Linked DNA regions of Homo sapiens: region 2 is linked to region 1. The links are contacts of gene promoters, found by promoter capture Hi-C in blood cells and fetal thymus (Javierre and others, 2016). All regions are on one chromosome and are shown on one strand. The core of a region is centred on a gene start or on the middle of the fragment in contact, and the rest is flanking DNA. Distances in the headings are between cores, read along the strand shown. Region 1 holds the start of VPS9D1 (VPS9 domain containing 1). Region 2 overlaps SPIRE2 (spire type actin nucleation factor 2).

Region 1 (7,054 bases), core at 3,187-5,686:
TTCTTACAGCTTTGTGACTCTGCCCCCTGAAGCTTCTGGAAGATCTCGGGTGGCAGAAAAGGAGAGAGCTTTCCTCCTTCATCGGAGTATACACGGCGGTGTCGGCCGGCAGGCTGGGGAATGGGAGCAGCTGCAGGCATGGTTGGCTTCAGGCGTGTTTTCCCTGCAAGCCATGGGTAACCAGGGGTCAAGCGGTGGGCCACATCCCACAGAGGAGATGCGGGCTTGGGGGATGCCCCAGGAGAGCCGCCTACTGCAGGAGACCCACCAAGCTTGGCGGCCGTCGACTGGGCCCTCTCCAGACACTGCTGTGCTAGCTTCAGCATCTTGGAGGTGTCGGGGGGCACAGTTTCCCCAGCTTCTGGGGGAGGGACAAGAAGGCTGGTCACAGTCGGCTCTACCACTGTTACTTACTGCTGAGATAAAATGAGGCAACGGAAAAGGCAGGCAAGCCCACTGCCCCCCTCAGCACCCCCACTGACCCCGGGCAAGCCCACTGCCCCCCCATCCCCTCACTGACCCTGGGCAAGCCCACTGCCCCCCCATCCCCTCACCCCGGGTAAGCCCACTGCCCCTCCCGTCCCCCAACTGACTGACCCTAGGCAAGCCCACTGCCCCCCCATCCCCTCACCCCGGGTAAGCCCACTGCCCCTTCCACCCCCCACTGACCCCGGGCAAGCCGACTATTCCTCATGGACCCCAGGCAAGGCCCCTGCCCCCACCATGGACCCCAGGCAAGTCCCCCCACCCACGCATTTCTAATCATCTGCCCTGGTTTTGCCTCCTGAGTCTGCTAAGGCTGTGGGCCCCTCATCGAGGCCCGTCACAGCCTCGACCCTAAACAGGCCTTTAGTGCTCACTCAGCTTCACTTGCAACTGCAGGCCTCTGGGAAGTGGCCGTTTTACAGAGACAAGGACGTGCTGAGGGGATCGCCTCACCCATCTCCCACCGGCTGTGTCCCCAAAGTCCTGCCTTCCCGTAGCTTGGCATGGAGCACCTCTGCGCGACCATGGACCTGCTCACACAGCCCTTCTGCGCGCCGTGGGAGCTGCCTCTCTGTGACTCGCCCCTGGACCCACCGCCCCAGCGCCTGACCCACCTCCCTGCTGCCCTTCACAGAAAACTTCTCATAGACTCCCATTTTCTCATCCCGCCCCGATTTAGCCCCCGACTCCCCCCGGAAACTGCCCTTACCCGTCCCCACCTTGCCAGACACGGTGGGCCACTGGAGTTCCTCTGTCTTCTGGGACTTTGCTCTCCCCAGGGGATCCTCTGCCACTCCTCCACCCAACTCCTCAATCTTGGAGCGCCAGAGCTCAGCCGAGCTCACCGGCTCCCTAGGGAGCTGGGGCAACTGTTAGCTCCCCCTGACCTGTGTGATCCTACGTCCAGTGGCTGCCCCGACCTCTGTGATCCCACGTCCAGGGGCTCCCCCGACCTCTGTGATCCCACGTCCAGTGGCTCCCCCGACCTCTGTGCTCCCACGTCCAGTGGCTCCCCCGACCTCTGTGCTCCCACGTCCAGTGGCTCCCCCGACCTCTGTGCTCCCACGTCCAGTGGGTCCCCCTGACCTCTGTGATCCCACGTCCAGTGGCTCCCCCTGACCTCTGTGCTCTATGTCCAGTGGCTCCCCCTGACCTCTGTGATCCTTTGTGCAGCGGCTGCTGGCCTCTCAAACTTAATGTGTTCATTGCGGAACTTGCTATTCCTCTCCTTGCCAGTTTGCTCCTGCCCCATCTGCCTCCTGCAAGTCTGCTCTGTTCCACCTTCAGGACGCACCCCGAGGCCGTTTACTGCTCCCATCCTGGGTGGTCTGGCCACTGCCATCCTCAGTCCTCACCTGAGGCTCCACTCCCAGGCTGTCCTCTCCCTCAAAGCTCAAAGTCTCTTCAAGTTTCCCTGCACACCAGAACGGCCCCAGTTCCACCCAAGGCATGCACACAGCCCCACCCCGCCCACTCCTATTTCAGGGCCTTTGCACACCCCACAGCTGGAATGCTGCCCCACGTCTGTGCCGCTCACTGGAGCCAGTGTCTTGCCACACCCCAGTCTCCATCTTCTTATCCACAACGCTGGTCCCTTCCTGCCACTATATCACACTGAGTGTGGGCTGGTCCACCTACTACAAATGGTCAGGCTAGAAGGATACAAGAGACCCCCGCCGAAGCCTGGCACCCATCAAGGGCTAGGATGCCCACAATTTGTCCAGCATGGAGGAAGCAGCAGGGCTCAGCCATGCCTTTTTCTTTTTCTTTTCTTTTTTTTTTTTTTGAGACGGAGTTTCGCTCTTGTTCCAGGCTGGAGTACAATGGGGTGATCTCGGCTCACTGCAACCTCTGCTCCCGGGTTCAAGCAATTCTCCTGCCTCAGCCTCCCGAGTAGCTGGGACTACAGACACCCGCCACCAGGCCCAGCTGATTTTTTAGATTTTTAGTAGAGACGGGGTTTCACCATGTTAGCCAGGATGGTTTCGATCTCCTGACCTCAGGTGATAGCCCGCCTCTGCCTCCCACAGTGCTGGGATTACAGGCGTGAGCCACCGCGCCCGGCTGGCTGAGCCGTACCTTTAGTGGTTTCCACTTCTTCTAGTAACACCTGGGAGATATAGTGGATGCTCCTCAGGTATTCCGTGTATGCCTCCTGTGTCCAGGAAAGAGAAAGAGTGGGGTCAGGCCAGTGGAGGGAAGTGACTCCATTATTCCGGCCAGGTGCCCTTGTGGGATAAGCAAGGAACACCACCACCTGCTTATCTCTGAGATACACCCAGAGACATTGAGCCTGCGGTGGTTAGCTGCAGCCGGAACACGGTTTTCTGCGCAGGGCACAGGCAGCATCGCTGCTCTCCAGACTTGGAAAAGACATCAGGACCTGAGAGAGAGAGAGAGCCAGGGACGAGCTGGACCTCATTTTCTCCTCTGACTGCCTTTCTCTCCAGCACAGGAACTGATATTCTCATTCAGTGGGCCTGGGGAAGTGACCTCAGCAGTTTGCTGTCATTTTTCATTCTATGCAATGTTTCCTTCTTGTGCAACTCAAGGGTGATTCATTCAGTGGCTTAAAAAAATACTTTTCTGAGAGGATAAAGGGAGTGATACTGGAAGTTTTCAAATCACTTCCCGGTTTAAGTTCCGAGAAATCCCTTTCCCAGAACCTGCGAGTTACGTATTTCCAGTGCACACAGGAGCCTAGAACTGTTACCTTTCAAGGCTGTGTGACCCCTCTGACAAGGCACAGGTCATTGGAACCACAGAATGGTGGTTTGTTTTGTTTTGTTGAGACAGAGTCTCACTCTGTCGCCCAGGCTGGAGTGCAGTGGCAGGATCTCGAGTCACTGCAACCTCCGCCTCCTGGGTTCAAGTGATTCTCATCCCTCAGCCTCCCAAGGAGCTAGGATTACAGGTGTGCACCGCCACACCCAGCTAATTTTTGTATTTTTAGTAGAGACGGGGTTTCACCACGTTGGCCAGGCTGGTCTCAAACTCCTCACCTCAGGTGATCCACCGCCTGGGCCTCCCAAAGTGTCAGGATTACAGGCGTGAACCACAGCGCCCAGCAATATGCTATGTTTTTTTGTTTTATCCCTAGCTGTTAAGTTTCCTATCTTTAAGTCTATGCCTCAGAGAGAAAGACGAAATATAATCCAGGCAGGATTTCTGACTTGCGGGGGCACCTGCTGCCCTAAAAACCAACTTGGGGAAAGCAGCAGATTCAGGAACGAGGCTTCTCCTAGGCACAGGCAGGCTCCTTCCCTCCTTGGGCAGCCGGGTGTGGCTGGGCCAGCTTCTCTACCTGGTCGCCAACCTTAGATTCGGCCCCATCTCAGGAACGGGCCACACCCCTCCGGCCTGCTTTTCCTTCCTAAGACGACTGCAAACAGCATCACAAATGAGCAGGTATGTGGCCTTCTCTGCATGCCGTCCCCTGTGGCAACCGGATTAAATCTACCATCTCTGCCCAGAAAAATGCACGAACGCACGGACCTGCCCGTCACTCGGATTTTGGAAGGTGGCCTGGCGGACCCTCCTGCTACATCTCCTCTACAGGTGGAGCCCAGGCTGTGATGCACCGGCTCAGCGAGCGGAGTGGAAAGCCAAGGTCCGCAGGATCTGAGCTGTCCAAGGTCACTGCACGCCCGGCTGCGCCCCGCCCCCGTCCTCGCCCGGGAACCGCGGCCCGGGATCCCGGCTGGCGCCCGCTCCCAAGTCTCCAGCCCGAGCCGGCCCCGTCCTCGCCCTCCCCGGGCGGGGGTCCCTCCAGGGGCCACCCTCAGCGGCCAAGCCCCGCCCCCGCCCCGCCTCACCCGGGGCCGGTTGCCGGTGTCCAGCTCGATGGCCCCGTTGGCAAGCTTCATGGCGCTCTGCAGCGGCTTCACCGTGCCGTCCCCGGCCGCAGCGGCCATGGCGCCGAGCGGGGGAGGCGGCGGCGGTAGCCGAGGGGCTGGACGGGCGACCGGAGGCCCGGAACGCAGCCGGCGCTGGTGCTGGAGCCGCCCGAGCAGCGGACCGCAGGAAGGGACGCGGCCGCACTTCCGGCGACGGGCCCCCTCCGCGCGTACTGCGGGCCCCACGGGTGTTAGTGGCGGGGGCGGCAGAGTCCGGGTGGGTTGTCGCGACGGAGCCGGGCCTCTTCGCCGTCTTGAGACGGGGCTGGCGAGAAGGGCCCCTCACGGAGTTGCCATGGGCGTCTAACCGCGGCAGCCAGGCCCCTCTCTACGTGAGACCCCGGCCCCCCTCCCCTTTCTGCAGCCCGCCCGCCACCTGCGCGCCGCGTGGCCTCCGCCGGCGCCTGCCCGCCCCGCGCCTCCGTCTCCCACGGTAAGAGGCGGTGAGGGCCGCGTCGCCTCTCCCTGGAGGACTCGTCGTGAGGTGTCGGCGAGCCCCTCCGCCCACCGCCCCGCCCCAGGCCAGCGCTCCATTGGCGACAGAGGCGGGCACGGCCGCCCTCGGGCCCGAGAGGGGAGCGGTACGAGCGGGGGCGCTGGCACCGCGGGTGGAACCTCGGCCGGCGGGGTCCCGCCCCTGGCCCCTGGCCCGCCCCGCCCGCCTCGCTTTGCTTCTCGCTCCGCCCCTCCCCCGCCCCGCCTCGCTTCCAGCGCGCCGAGCGGAGCCTAACGCCGGGTCCTCTAGGAACCTCGGGCCGGGCAGCACCCGCGGGATTCTGCTGGCGTCCTCCGCTGCCATGAAGCGGGACCGGCTGGGCCGCTTCCTGTCTCCTGGGTCGTCCCGACAGTGCGGGGCCTCGGACGGCGGCGGCGGCGTCAGCCGGACTCGGGGCCGCCCTTCCCTTAGCGGTGGGCCGAGGGTGGACGGGGCGACGGCGCGGCGCGCCTGGGGCCCGGTGGGGTCCTGCGGGGACGCGGGCGAGGACGGCGCGGACGAGGCAGGTGGGTCCGCGGCCCGGGCGTGGCGGGTTGGGGTCGCGGCAGGGGTTGCTCGTGGGAGGAGCCGCACTGACGCCCGGAAGCCGGCGCGGCCTCTCCTCCACCCGGCCAAGGGCGTAGCGGACTCGGGGCTGCGTCGGGATAGGCGCTGGGCGGCCGGCTCGGTTTTCCTCGCGCTCCGTGACGCCGGCGTCGCCGGCCCGGCCTCCCCGGCCGCGGGCTCGGCCAGAAGGGACCCGGCGTGAGGAGCGCTGTCACCGCGGGCAGGTCGCCCTGGGGTGCCCGCGCGTGGGAATCGCCCTCCCCTGCTTCGTGCCCTCGCGGAGCCGGAAAGGAGGCGGCACCTGCAATTGGCAGACAGGAAACCGCGGCGTTTCCTGGAGGGCGCAGCGCCTGCCCCGGGTCTCGCGGTCGCTGGGAGGAGGGTGCAGTTCCAGGTTTCACTCTTGAAGTTGCTTCGCTGGAGAGGCCTTAGAGGCCTTTGAAATTTGAAAGATTTCTTGGACCAGCGGCCACATCCCCCACAGGGCGGCTTGTCCCGCCGAGAGCCGCGCGCCCGAGCCGCTTGCTGTGTCCGGGAGCCGCGCGAAGGGCGCTGCAGGCGCTGCCCTCGGACCTGGAGTCCGGGACGCCCTGTGCTCAGGAGCCTCCTTTGCCAGCTGCTAACACTTCCTGCCGCTCTGTGCAGGAGCAGGCCGGGCTCTCGCCATGGGTCACTGTCGCCTCTGCCACGGGAAGTTTTCCTCGAGAAGCCTGCGCAGCATCTCCGAGAGGGCGCCTGGAGCGAGCATGGAGAGGCCATCCGCAGAGGAGCGCGTGCTCGTACGGGACTTCCAGCGCCTGCTTGGTGTGGCTGTCCGCCAGGACCCCACCTTGTCTCCGTTTGTCTGCAAGAGCTGCCACGCCCAGTTCTACCAGTGCCACAGCCTTCTCAAGTCCTTCCTGCAGAGGGTCAACGCCTCCCCGGCTGGTCGCCGGAAGCCTTGTGCAAAGTACGCCCTAGTCTGTTCAGAGCACGTTCAGGCTGTCAGTACTGCAGTGTGACGGGTGTTGAGAGAGGGACAGGGCGTGCCTCCGCGGGAGCCTCTGGGTGGGGGGAATGGGCCATGCCCGGGTTCAGTGCCAACAGCCCTGGGACTGTTGTGGAGAGATGAACTGGGAGGAGCTGGGGTGAGGGAAGAGAAAGTTGCCTATGGGGACCGCTGAGGTTTGAGATCTCGAGAGGGTCCCGTACGACGAGCGCTGTGAACCTCCGCCTGCTTGTCCTGCTCATGGCCACACTGATCCTTTGCAGGGTCGGTGCCCAGCCCCCAACAGGGGCAGAGGAGGGAGCGTGTCTGGGTGAGTCCTCCCCCGGTGGAGGGTGGGCTGGGTGCCGACCAGCCGTGGATCTGACATCTCTGTTGACTCTCTGCAGTGGATCTGATCACATCCAGCCCCCAGTGCCTGCACGGCTTGGTGGGGTGGGTGCATGGACATGCGGCCAGCTGCGGGGCCCTGCCCCACCTTCAGAGGACACTGTCCTCCGAGTACTGCGGCGTCATCCAGGTCGTGTGGGGCTGCGACCAGGGCCACGACTACACCATGGATACCAGCTCCAGCTGCAAGGCCTTCTTGCTGGACAGTGCGCTGGCAGTCAAGTGGCCATGGGACAAAGAGACGGCGCCACGGCT
Region 2 (6,944 bases), core at 4,445-6,944, 130 kb after region 1:
AAGTGCTGGATTACAGGCATGAGCCACCATGTCTGGCCCAAATCCTTTCAAAGTTATATTTTAATGTTACCGTAATGTTTCTCTCAAAAGTTGGAGATGGTTTGCATAAAAATAAAAAGTTTTCAAATTTTTTTTTTTTTTTTTTTGAGATGGAGTCACTCTGTCGCCCAGGCTGGAGTGCAATGGCGCAATCTCGGCTCACTGCAAACTCCGCCTCCCAGGTTCACGCCATTCTCCTGCCTCAGCCTCCCGAGTAGCTGGGACTACAGGTGCCCGCCACCACGCCCAGCTTATTTTTTTGTATTTTTTAGTAGAGACGGGGTTTCACCGTGTTAGCCAGGATGGTCTCGATCTCCTGACCTCATGATCCGCCTGCCTCGGCCTCCCAAAGTGCTGGGATTACAGGCGTGAGCCACCGCGCCCAGCTGAAACCTGTCATCTTTTACAAGCACACACAGGATTGTTTCAAAGAAGACTCCCTAGCATCTTTGTTCTAGTCATTTGTTATTTTACACAAAAGAAATCTGAGTCAGGTGCAGTAGCTCACACCTGTACTCCCAGCACTTTGGGAGGCTGAGGCGGGAGGATCGCTTGAGCCCAGGAAGTCATGGCTGCAGTGAGCCATGATTACACCACTGCACTCCAGCCTGGGTGACAGAGCAACACCTTGTTTCAAAAAAAAAAAAAAAGGAAAAAGAAACTCAGGTGGCTTTTCTTCTCTCATTGAGGCTGTGCTTCCCTGCAGGGAGAAATAGGCTCTTAACTCTTAGTGGTGGATGGAAACGAGGGGTCCTGGTTCTGCCTCCCACCTTAGCATGGCACTAATAGACTTGATGAGAATCTGGGGTCCTTACTGCCTCCGTCTGCTCTACCCTGGAGAGAATTTTTTAGATAAGCAAAAGGTGGTTTGCATAACCCCATGTGGCCACGTTGGTGACGTGGTTGTGGTAGCTCTGTGGCCACGTTGGTGACGTGGTTGTGGTAGCTCTGTATGCACTTATACCTGGGTGTTCGGCTGGGTTGCTTGCTGTGGTCTGGCCATGCTCGGTGGCCCAGCTGCCCCATTTATTAGGGGTATGGTCTTGGGTAAGTTTCTCAACCTGCCTGAGCCTCGATTTCCTCATCTGTAACGAGGAAATTATGGCACCAACCTTTATGGGATGGCTGCGCAGATAGAGGCCACGGTAAATAATTTTTTTTTTTTTGAGATGGAGTTTTGCTTTTGTTACCCAGGCTGGAGTGCAGTGGCACGATCTCGGCTCACCGCAACCTCCACCTCCCAGGTTCAAGCCGTTCTCTTGCCTCAGCCTCCCAAGTAGCTGGGATTACAGGCGTGTTCCTCCCGAGTAGCTGGGATTACAGGCATGCGCCACCATGCCCGGCTAATTTTGTATTTTTAGGAGAGGTGGGGTTTCTCCCTGTTGGTCAGGCTGGTCTCCAACTCCTGACCTCAGGTGATCCGCCTACCTCAGCCTCCCAAAGTGCTGGGATTACAGGCGTGAGCCACCGCACCCCACAGTAAATAATTTTTTAACATCTAGTTTTATAACATCTGAGTTTTATAACATCCTGGGCTCGGGCTCTGACTGCAAAGGCCTCTGTCGGCCCCCAAGTCTCCCCCAGATAATCTCTCATCTCAGAACCCAGAGACACCCCAAGTCTTTGCAGCTTAAATACAATTAGATTCATGAACACGTAATTTTTTTTTTTTTTTTTTTTTTGTGACGGAGTCTCACTCTGTTGCCCAGGCTGGAGTGCAGTGGCACCATCTTGACTCACTGCAACCTCCACCTCCTGGGTTCAAGCGATTCTCCTCTCTCAGCCTCCCAAGTAGCTGGGATTACAGGCATGTGCCACCATGCCCAGCTAATTTTTGTATTTTTAGTAGAAACGGGGTTTTGCCATGTTGGCCAGACTGGTCTTGAACTCCTGACCTCAGGTGATCCACCCACTTCGGCCTCCCGAAGTGCTGGGATTACAGGCGTGAGCCACCGTGCCCGGCCGTGAACATTTAATTTTGATACAACTTTTTTTGTTAACCTATGGAGTATTTGAGCCAGAGGCACAAACATTAAAATTATTCCAACCAGAAGCTTCCCATGCACTGAGGACCTCGCCTGATGTGGGCTTAGTCTGTGAAGGCACTGAAGGGCCAGCCGGCCACCAGTCAGCCCTTCCCCACAGGGCCCTGGTCTGTTCCAGGGAGCACCTTTGTTTGGGTCTGATGTCTTCCACCTTCCCATGGCCTCGGCCCAATCACAGCTGCAAACGTGCTGAACGCCCAGCGCGGGCCAGGACTGCCCAGGCCCTGGGGACCCACACCCCCACCGTGGGCCACACATTGTTCTATGAACTCCACTGATGCGGGGGTGGATTGCTTTCCATTATGTTAATGGAGCAGGCTCCCTTTATCTTTGGCAATCTTCCTGGTTCTTGATGGCATTTTGAAAATATTTGTGGAGTTAGCAGGTCCACTGAGCAGATGATTTCATGGCTTAGATATAGACGCATATATACATCTTACCTCATTCCAGAAAGAATTCCAGGCAGCTGGAGCTCTTGTTCTAGCACAGTCCCACCTGCATGCCCAGTTCAAGGAAGGCTGTAGAATCGGGTGGATGTTTTGCATCCCACCCAGCGCAGCATCTTGGGAACCCCGGGGGAGGAGGGTTGGGGAGCACAGACCCTGGGCCCCACGGCCTGGCCCCACTCCTGGCACTTATCAGCCCTGATACCTTGGAGCAAACAGATTCATCCTCCGGTCTCTGTTTCCTCATCTGTGAAACGGGAAGTGGAGCAACCAGCTCCAGCGTGAGCACCGGCAAAAGGCAGGTTCGCTCCCGGGCCTCCCTCAGGGCCAGGTTTCATCAATGAAATACGTGACTCCAGCTTCCACCTGCATTTCCACTCGGACTGTGGTTCTCTAAGAGGCATAAACAGTCTTGGGGGGACATCTCCAAATCGGTGGTCTCAGTCAGATGCCGACTTACCTGCTCTGCAAAGTCTGTCTCTCCCTCTGACCCGGGGTTTCTCATCTGACTGCTGTGATTTCAGTGTGCACAACCTCAGTCCCAGGCAGGTGGTGTGTCTCATCTCAGACCACAGGTTCTTTCCTGAAGATGTGCCTCGATGGATGGAGCTGCTGCCTTGCTGCCACGTTTTTTTTTTTTTGTTTGTTTTTGTTTTTTGTTTTTTTTTTTTTTTTTTTGAGACAGAGTCTCGCTTTGTTGCCCAGGCTGGAATGCAGTGGCGTGATCTCGGTTCACTGCAACCTCCACCCCTCAGGCTCAAGTGATCCTCCCACCTCAGTCTCCCGAGTAGCTAGGACTACATATATGCACTACCATGCCCAGCTATTTTTATGTATTTTTTGGAGAGATGAGGTTTCGATATGTGGCCCAGGCTGGTCTCAAACTCCTAATCTTAAGTGATCCACCCGCCGTGGCACCTCAAAGTGCTGAGATTACAGGCATGAGCTGCCGTGCCTGGCCTTTTTTTTTTTTTGAGACAGGGTCTCACTCTGTCGCCCAGGCTGGTGTGCACTGGTGCAATCTTGGCTCACTGCAGCCTCAACCTCCTGGGCTCAAGAGGTCCTCCCGAGTAGCAGGACTACAGGCACCTGCCACCACGCCTGGCTAATTTTTTTATTTTTATTTTTATATATTTTTTGAGATGCAGTCACGCTCTGTTGCCCAAGCTGAAGTGCAGTGGCATGATCTTGGGTCAGCCTCCACCTGCAGCCTCCATCTCCTGGGTTCAAGCGATTCTCACGCCTCAGTCTCCTGAGTAGCTGGGATTACAGGTGCTCTCCACTATGCCTGGCTCATTTTTGTATTTTGTACTTTTAGTAGAGATAGGGTTTCATCATGTTGGTCAGGCTGGTCTTGAACTGCTAGCCTCAAGTGGTCCACCCACCTCAGCCTCCCAAAGTAATTTTTTTTTTTTTTGAGACAGAGTCTCACTCTGTTGCCCAGGCTGGAGTGCAGTGGTGCAATCTCGGCTCACTGCAAGCTCTGCCTCCTGGGTTCACGCCATTCTCCTGCATCACCCTCCCGAGTAGCTGGGACTACAGGTGCCCGCCACCACGCCTGGCTAATTTTTTGTATTTTTAGTACAGACGGGGTTTCACCGTGTTAGCCAGGATGGCCCCGATCTCCTGACGTTGTGATCCGCCTGCCTCAGCCTCCCAAAGTGCCGGGATTACAGGCGTGAGCCACCGCGCCTGGCCCTCCCAAAGTAATTTTAAAATTTTTTGTAGCCACAGGGGCTTACTATGTTGTCCAGGCTGGTTTTGAACTCCTGGCTGCTAGCAGCTCTCCCACCTCGGCATCTCAAAGTGCTGGGATTATAGGTGTGAGCCACCACATCTGGCCTCCTACTCCACCTGCCCCTCCTTCACTCTTACTCCCAGCCATGTTTCCCTAGGGGCAGCCTCCTGCAGTGCCCGGGACAGACTGTGGGACCTGTTGGCTGCTCTCCAGCCCTGACTCGCCTTTGAGTGGTCACCATGGAGGGGCTGCTGCGTGGGGCACTGGGGGTCTGTCCACAAGCTGACCATCATCCTTCTGCAAGTAGGGGTTGCCTTGCTCTCCCGGCCCCTGTACCTGGGTGTCCTGCTTAGAGCCAGCTCGAGCCGGGCCTCATGGGTGTTCGTCCAAATGACCAAGTGGCTGGGCCTGCTGTGAGCTTTCTGGTGTTCCGGCGGAGAGTGGGGCTGTGGTGTGTGTCCCCGAGGGGGAGGTGGGGGGACAGCAGTGTTTATTGGGGTCCCGGGGATGCTGACAAATAACTTAACTCCCTCTTCTCTTACAGAACCTGCAACCATGGTCGTGCCACTAGCCAGCTCGGAAGCCCAGGTACTTTTTAAAAAATTCCAAGTATTACTTGATGTGTGTTAAAACGTACCTGCATCTTAAAATGTAAATCATAAAACATATATAGTTACACAGTTGTTTCAGGGAGGCAGGGTGCAGATGAAGTACCCAACAGGCTTAGTTGCAGGGACTGGATGAAACGCTGTTCACAGAGAGCAGACGTGGAGGAGACCGCCGGGGTGGGGAGGGTCCCCGTGGTGCTTCCGGCCTGGAGGAGGCAGTGGTGTTACTTCCTTCCACAGCTGCACAGATGAGGGGCACAGCTGACGTCTGCAGGGCCGGCCTCCCAGACACAGAGCCGGGGTCAGGGAGACGACTTCAGGTGCAAACAGGAAAAATCAGCCTGGTGACCAGTGCCCCGAAACCCCACCCGACCAAAACTGGAACCTCACCGCAGGGCAGGGCCTTCCTCTCCCATTCACCTGCCCTGAAGTCATGTCTGGAACGTCATGTTTCCACTTTCTACTGCCTTTTTAGTTTTCTTTCTTTGTTTTTTTTGCTTTTGTTCATTTTATTTTATTTTATTGTTTTGAGATGGAGTCGCGCTCTGTCGCCCAGGCTGGAGTGCAGTGGTGTGATCTCGGCTTACTGCAAGCTCCGCCTCCCGGGTTCACACCTTTCTCCTGCCTCAGCCTCCCAAGTAGCTGGGACTACTGGTGCCCGCCACCACGCCCGGCTAATTTTTTTCTATTTTTAGTAGAGACGGGGTTTCACCGTGTTAGCCAGGATGGTCTTGATGTCCTGACCTTGTGATTCACCTGCCTCGGCCTCCCAAAGTGCTGGGATTACAGGAGTGAGCCACCGCGCCCGGCCTTATTTTATTTTTTAATAGAGATGTCTCACTATGTTGCCCGGACTAGTCTCAAACTCCTGGGCTCAAGCCATCCTCCCACTTGGCCTCCCAAAGTGCTGGGATTACAGTTCTGAGCCACTGTGCCTGGCCTCTTTTTTTTTTTGAGATAGAATCTCCCTCTGTCACCCAGGTTGGACTGCAGTGGTGCGATCTCAGCTCACTGCAACCTCGGCTAGTTGCAGCGCAACCTCCGTCTCCTGGGTTCAAGCAATTCTCCTGCCTCAGCCTCCCGAGTAGCTGAGATTACAGGCGCATGCCACCACGCCTGGCTAATTTTTGTGTTTTTTTTTGTTTTTGAGACAGAGTCTCTCTCTGTCACCAGGCTGGAGTGCAGTGGCGTGATCTTGGCTCACTGCAACCTCCGCCTCCCGGGTTCACGCCATTCTCCTGGCCAGCCTCTCAAGTAGCTGGGACTACAGGCGCCCGCCACCATGCCCGGCTAATTTTTGTATTTTTAGTAGAAGTGGGGTTTCACCATGTTGGCCAGGATGGTCTCAAACTCCTGACCTCATGATTCACCCACCTCAGCCTCCCAAACTGCTGGGATTACAGGTGTGAGCCATCACGCCCAGCCTTTTTTTTTTTTTTTTTAGATCTACCCTCTTGTTGCCCAGGGGGAGTCCAGTGGCGTGATCTTGGCTCACTGCAACCGCCGCCTCCCGGGTTCAAGCAATTCTCCTGCCTCAGTCTCCCGAGTGTCTTCTGTCTTTTGTAAAAGTTTTTCATGCCCAAGTGAGATTAATTGTTTAAAAAAAAAAAAACAAGAAGAAAACAACATAGATTTACCGCAAGACCTATTGATATATTATTAAACATGGTGGTATACCCAGGGTGGGTGTGACACAGACCAAAAGAGGCTGTGTGTTCTGTTGTTGATAATTTAAAAACAATAATAAAACCGAAGTCTATGTCACCACAAACAGCACTTAACAATTCAGTGATAAGGCACCTGCCACCGTGGAGAACCTCGGGGCGGGGATGTTTAGACTGCATGCGCTCAGGTTGCCTGGCAGCTCTGTGTGTGGAGATGCCATTGTGCTATACGTAGTGTCCTGGGACGTGAGTGGGGGCCTGTCTGTGTGGCTGTGTCCGGTTGTCGTGTGTCTCACTGTTGCGTTGTACACGGGACAGTTTACCTTTCTGAAGTCCAGGACTCCAGGGCTGGGAGGCCGGCTGGCCCTGCTGTCCCGAGTCTCCAAACAGAGCAGCTGCTGCCT

What was found. The method cuts DNA at HindIII sites, captures the fragments that hold promoters and counts their contacts. A CHiCAGO score of 5 or more calls a contact.
Region 2: a fragment that was not itself captured here is called in contact with the fragment with the promoter of VPS9D1 in region 1 in 2 of 17 cell types (M1 macrophages and endothelial precursors); the score reaches 6.0 in M1 macrophages.

The regions. Positions count from the first base shown.
Region 1 is chr16:89,716,462-89,723,515 of GRCh38, forward strand. It overlaps VPS9D1 (VPS9 domain containing 1), which reads right to left and starts at 4,437. Exons shown (of 15, transcript NM_004913.3): 1 at 4,302-4,437; 2 at 2,566-2,641; 3 at 269-361; 4 at 1-163. The coding sequence starts at 4,400. ZNF276 (zinc finger protein 276) reads left to right here and starts at 5,076. Exons shown (of 11, transcript NM_001113525.2): 1 at 5,076-5,384; 2 at 6,070-6,373; 3 at 6,676-6,722; 4 at 6,799-7,054. The coding sequence starts at 5,180. It overlaps VPS9D1-AS1 (VPS9D1 antisense RNA 1), which reads left to right. Exons shown (of 4, transcript NR_036480.1): 3 at 10-443; 4 at 883-1,704. RefSeq lists an enhancer at 2,649-2,818, a cis regulatory region at 2,734 and silencers at 4,044-5,163, 5,244-5,703. The HindIII fragment of the contact is 11,777 bases long and covers 4,345-7,054 here.
Region 2 is chr16:89,840,510-89,847,453 of GRCh38, forward strand. It overlaps SPIRE2 (spire type actin nucleation factor 2), which reads left to right. Exons shown (of 15, transcript NM_032451.2): 2 at 4,813-4,856. Among named protein-coding and RNA genes, the nearest start is that of SPIRE2, 16 kb to the left of the region's middle. RefSeq lists enhancers at 6,419-6,563, 6,768-6,944 and a cis regulatory region at 6,490-6,491. The HindIII fragment of the contact is 7,206 bases long and covers 2,092-6,944 here.